Linked DNA regions of Homo sapiens: region 1 is linked to region 2. Evidence: promoter capture Hi-C in 16 types of primary human blood cells and fetal thymus (Javierre and others, 2016). All regions are on one chromosome and are shown on one strand. The core of a region is centred on a gene start or on the middle of the fragment in contact, and the rest is flanking DNA. Distances in the headings are between cores, read along the strand shown.

Region 1 (2,735 bases), core at 37-2,536, 680 kb before region 2:
AATGGTGTTAATGCCTGTAAGTGTGGAAATTATAAACTACTCTATAACAGCCATTAAAGTTTTGTTGACCAAATGGCTAAATGAAAAAAACAGGTTAACCATCTCATTAGGAGAAGTGAAAAGTGTTGATTGAGCCAGCAGGGAACTCCGAAAATGATTTCCTCTTCTTGGAGCTACCACCTGGTGCCCTTAGGGTAGACAGAAGTGACATGTTAACCATGTATATGGAAATTGTGTCCAAATGTATTAAGTGAACAAATGTGAAACAGAAAGCTCTGTAGGAGGAACACCTTCTAGCTGGGTTTGGCTAGCCACACAGCTGCTCCTAGGACCCAAGGGCAGCTGCTCTTAGCTCCATTTAAAGAAACCCGTGAGAGCACCTTCAATCTTCTCTTTGTGGGCTAATTACCCAGTGAAGCAAGCAAAGCAGTCTCTGTGTACCTTTTCATTGTACAAAGAAAAATCTCAAAGCTATGTCTTGAAAAAGCTTTAAGAAATGGACTGTGTCCAATTATAAAATAGAGCTCTGGTTACTGCACATACTGCACAGTGATTTGAATTGCATCATCTTCCACATCCCCACCAACAACTCTTGGGAGCAAAATATAAGCCTTAGAACAAATTAATAACTCTTTAGGGTCATGCAACAAATAACATGCTTTTTATCTTAGCCACAAGACTCATTAGCAAACCTGAAGTGGCAGCTGCATGCTCTGGCTTCCTGGATTATTCCTGATCCCAAGAACACTAAAGCAATTGTTCACGATCCTTTGCACTGATATTCTGTAGAAGTATGTTTTTAATAAAGTTCTAGGATAGATATCTTAAAAGACGTGTTACTTTAAAAAAAAAGTTGATACTGATACTCTACCATGCAGGTAACCATATTTATAAAATATTTATGGTGGCATTTCTTTCTGGTTCCCAAAGTATTATATGTTCATGCCTTTGAAAGGAGGAAATACACAGAAAGCCAAAATGGAGATTGTGAAGTTTTACTTGCTTTTTAACTGTGTTTGTTCACTTCATAATATATTATAAACATTTTCCCATGTCATTAAATGTTCTTCTAAAGCGTGAGTGAATAGTGGTACAGAACACTCCAATTTTAACAATTCCTATTTTTGAACATTTGTGGTAGTTCCAATTTTGCTATTATAAATAACACTTTGAGAAACATGCTCATACATAAATCTGTCTGCTTATGTTTCTTTGAGATTATAAAAGTGGAAGCACTGGGTCAAAATATTTTAAATATTTTTAAAGATTTTGATAAGGGTGGTTAAGTTCAAACAGCCACTCTGATTTATGAATAAGAGAAAAGGAAAAATAAATAATCATGCCATGGAGTATTTACTGGAAGGAGCTGAACACAAAATGGCCAAGCCTTCGCTTTCATAGAGTTCTTCATTGCAAGGGCAGTGATTGATCCTTCTTGACCACCAGATGGCAGTAGAGAACACAGCAAACTGAACAAGACCTAGAGGAGAAGAGGAATCCACTCTTATTTAGCCTTATATACTTAGCCATTGGTTTTTCCTTGGGCAACTAGGAAGATTGGGCCTATCATATAAACAAAAAATAAATAAATATTATCAATCAGATCAGGCACAAAGACATTGGAGGAACACTTGCCTTTCATTGGACCTGGTGTTGAGAGCCACTAATCTGTTTTGCTTTATGTTTTCCTAAAGTTCTCTTCACACATTGGTCTCACTGCTGATCTTTTTCTGAAGTAGGTTTTGGTTTCTCTGGAAGCAGCCAAACATTTTATGTGAACCCCTGTACTTGCTCACCAGCTCACAATGAGGCAAAGTCTGGGTAAAATGAAATACTTTCACTAATGTCTTTGGGTTTTCCTATTTACTAGCTAAACAGGAAGTCACCAAGCAAAGAAGAGTGGCTGCTGTGAGATACCCCTCCACATTGACCTTAGACAGTCATTATTATTTATTCTGACTTTAGCGGAAAGAATACTTCCTTGCCTCCTTTTCCTGTCTCTGAGGAAAGGATATTCCAGACTCTAATGCATTTGGAGTTTCCAAAGATATGGTAGAGCTGTTCTCAAGATGCCTGAGACATGCAGAAAGCTTCATGATAGCTAGCACAGTGATGCCACAGCTGCACCAGCCAAATGCAATTGGAGTTTCTATTCAGTTTACTAGTGCAGCTACCTGAGCAAAGTACAGATAAAAAGGAAGTAACAACACAAGGGTGCCTCGTACTCCTGTTACCATTATGAAATTGAACTGAGACTTTAGTCTAGAATTTGCAGAGGCCAATTAGAAGGATTTGTTAAAAATATTAGTGCTCTTATCATAAAAACATCTATATGAACAACAAAAATATAAACAAAGAATAAGTAGTCTACTATTTGAGAGTAAGGATACTAACATCTGTTGAGTAATAATCCCTTCTTAAAACACCTAATAAGGGAGTATTAAAAAAAATGGAGATCAGGAAAAAGTCCTGAACCTACAATCAAAAATTAAATTGTACAGTATATGAGGTTCATTAAGCCACGTTCTTTACATGACTTCAAGTTTCCCTTTAAACAATTGGGCAATTCAGCTGGCAGAATAGAAAAAGTGAATGTTCTTTCGGCCTACACTCGTAGAAATACAGTGAGTGTAGTTACAGGAAACTTCTACCTCGCAATCAGAACACATTTGGAATATTTTGCTCAATTCAGAGGAGCAATGACAAACTGGACTCCATCTAGAACAAAGCAGTAG
Region 2 (2,700 bases), core at 96-2,595:
TCAATTATCTCCTTGATATGAAACCAACTAAGTGGCCATCGACCAACGAGTGGATAAAGAAAATGTGGTAGAAATACACCATGGAATACTACTCAGCCATAAAAAAATGAAATAATGTCTTTTGCAGCAACTTGGATGGAGCTGGAGGCCATTATTCCAAGTTAAGTAACTCAGGAATGGAAAACCAAATATCGTATGTTCTCACTTATACGTGGGAGCTGAGCTATGAGGACACAAAGACATACAGAATGATATAATGGACTTTAGAGGCTAGGGGTGGGGGAGGTTGGGAAGGAGGTGAGGGATAAAAGACTACATATTGGGTGCAGTGTACACTGCTCGGGTGACGAGTGCACTAAAATCTCAGAGTTCGCCACCATAGAGTCCATCCATGTAACCCAAAACCACTCGTACCCCAAAAGATTGAAATTTAAAAAAAATTTTTTTTAAAAGCATCTCCTTAATTCACAAATTCCTCTGAGGGTAGTACCACAAGTCCCATTTTACAGGTGAGGCCCCTGAGGCTTCAGCAAGTCTCAGGGACTCACCACAGTCACTCAGCTAGTAAGAAAAGGAACAAAGACTGGAATTTTACCTGACTCCAAGGTCCATGTTCTTAATCACCTGTGACAATCCCCTCTCATATATCCAGCAGCTGATGAAGTCTTTCTCTCAGGAAACCAACTGGACATAGACATGTCATGTCCATTTTATATGCAATATGGTGAATCAGGAGGAGCCGTGAAAGGACGACTCACTAAGTTACTCTCCCAATGTTTATGTTTGTTTAGACAGTGACCATCATGACCACTAGGGAAGATCACTTTCTGATTCTGCTGCCCTCACCTCCTGGACAAAAGCAGAGCAGAGAAGCAGCATAAACCCTGGTTGGGGGCCTAAGAATGATCCCCAACTCTCCACTGCAAACCACCGGGGTCAGGAAGCCTCCGGGTAATGCCCTCTCCCTCTTGTTTCGCTTTTTAAGTAGGTAAGCTGCACAGAGAGAAGCACTGTTGCATATTTCTGGACAGCTTATTTCTCTTGCAGAGGAAGACTGATATACACAACTAAAAGGCACTAACATGGGAGAAGATTTGAGAGATTAGAAGGATGGTGAAGGTGCGGTTGTCCAAAATCCCCCTCTGGGGGGAGATGATTGATATCTGGCTGTCATTCCAAGAAGCTTCTGGTTGACAAATACTGTCTGGTATTTCCTTGCTGATTTCTTACCCTCACACCGCAAGCCCTGATCTCTGTGGTCCACTGTGCAAATGCAAATTACCTGAATCAGGCTGCTGGTGACTCACCAGCTCCCCTTTAAAGCAACATCAGGTTCAACGCAGTGACTGCTCAGTAGAAGCCATGGCTCGCAGACACTGCTTCTCCTACTGGTTACTGGTATGCTGGTTGGTGGTAACTGTGGCAGAAGGTAAGGGTTTTGCTTTTATTCTACTGTGGGTCCACTAATTAATAAGTTGTAGGAAAAGACAAAACTGGCTCCATGATTATACGTTCCCATAAATTGGAAATATTTACCTCAGCTTCCATCAGCCTGTGTGGTTAAAGAGAAGGAAGTTGGATTTTGTCACCTGAAGACCTTGGTCCTCGTCTCAGCAATAGCTCTGTGACTTTAGACACACTTAAAATCTCTGAGTATCAGATTCCTCATATGTGAAGTGACAACATTAACAATATCCATCGTTATGGGGTTTGCAAGGACCAAATGAGCTATCATCTGTGAAAAACTCTTCAAGCTAAAAACACTGTACAAATACTAGTTATTATGGTTACAAAGCTAACAATTCCACTTTGAATTACAGCACTGTCCACTTTCTATCTCCAGCAGCATATTAATTTGCACATGGTGGGTATTTAGTCTTTGTTCATTGCTTTAATTAATCACATCTATTGAGCTGCATTTTGGTGCCACAGAGGTGGGCACAGGTTTCTTTCTTTAGGATTTTATTAGATTCCATTTCTCAACTGTTCCTATTCTCTTTCTTTGTTCCCACTACAAAATGTGTCCTGAGCCTTACAATTGGTTTGCAAACCCCTAGGAAAAGGAAAGAAAAGGCTGGGGAAGGGATGAAAAGAGGGAAATACAAGGGGAGGAAATCTTGGGGAGCCTAGATCTAACCTTTTCTTCAGTTTATTTTAATTCCAAAACTAGATGCTGTTTACGGAAGATGGACCTAGGAGTCAAACAGAGCACTTCACCCCTTTCACATGTCTTGGGTAGGGGGCTTTGCAGGGGCTCAGCCAAACCCTGCTCATCCCCAGACAGATTCCCCGTTCCCATCCCTCAGAGCTCACAATAGACAGGAGGAGGGGAGAGACATAAGAGCTGGTTGTGGAACACTCAGAAACCCCCTGATCCAACCTCTGCACACACTCTGGCAATCAGGGGACAGGGCATAGATTATGAACAAAACCTGCCCCCATATCCCAAGGCAAGGCCCCCAAGCCTCACCTACTAAAAGTGACATCTAAAAGAAGCATCATAAAACAAAACTAGCCACCTGCCACTTTCTCTGCAAAAAGTGAACCGCTCTTCAGGAGGCTTTGTAAACACATAGCTAAACAAGTTATAATGAGATTAGAGATTTATTTTATTCACATCTTAAAAACACCCACTGAGGCTGGGTACAGTGGCTCACACCTGTAATCCCAGCATTTTGGGAGGCCGAGGTGGGCAGATCA

Evidence for each region. Contacts are between HindIII fragments. The CHiCAGO score rates a contact against its expected background, and 5 or more counts as called.
Region 1: a fragment that was not itself captured here is called in contact with the fragment with the promoter of ODAPH in region 2 in 1 of 17 cell types (M0 macrophages); the score reaches 5.3 in M0 macrophages.

Annotation. Positions count from the first base shown.
Region 1 is chr4:74,873,511-74,876,245 of GRCh38, forward strand. It overlaps LOC105377282 (a long non-coding RNA gene), which reads right to left. Exons shown (of 4, transcript XR_938886.2): 3 at 1,358-1,480. Among named protein-coding and RNA genes, the nearest start is that of PARM1, 58 kb to the right of the region's middle. The HindIII fragment of the contact is 1,603 bases long and covers 486-2,088 here.
Region 2 is chr4:75,554,721-75,557,420 of GRCh38, forward strand. It overlaps ODAPH (odontogenesis associated phosphoprotein), which reads left to right and starts at 1,346. Exons shown (of 2, transcript NM_178497.5): 1 at 1,346-1,429. The coding sequence starts at 1,363. RefSeq lists a silencer at 1,079-1,373. The HindIII fragment of the contact is 3,725 bases long and covers 1,182-2,700 here.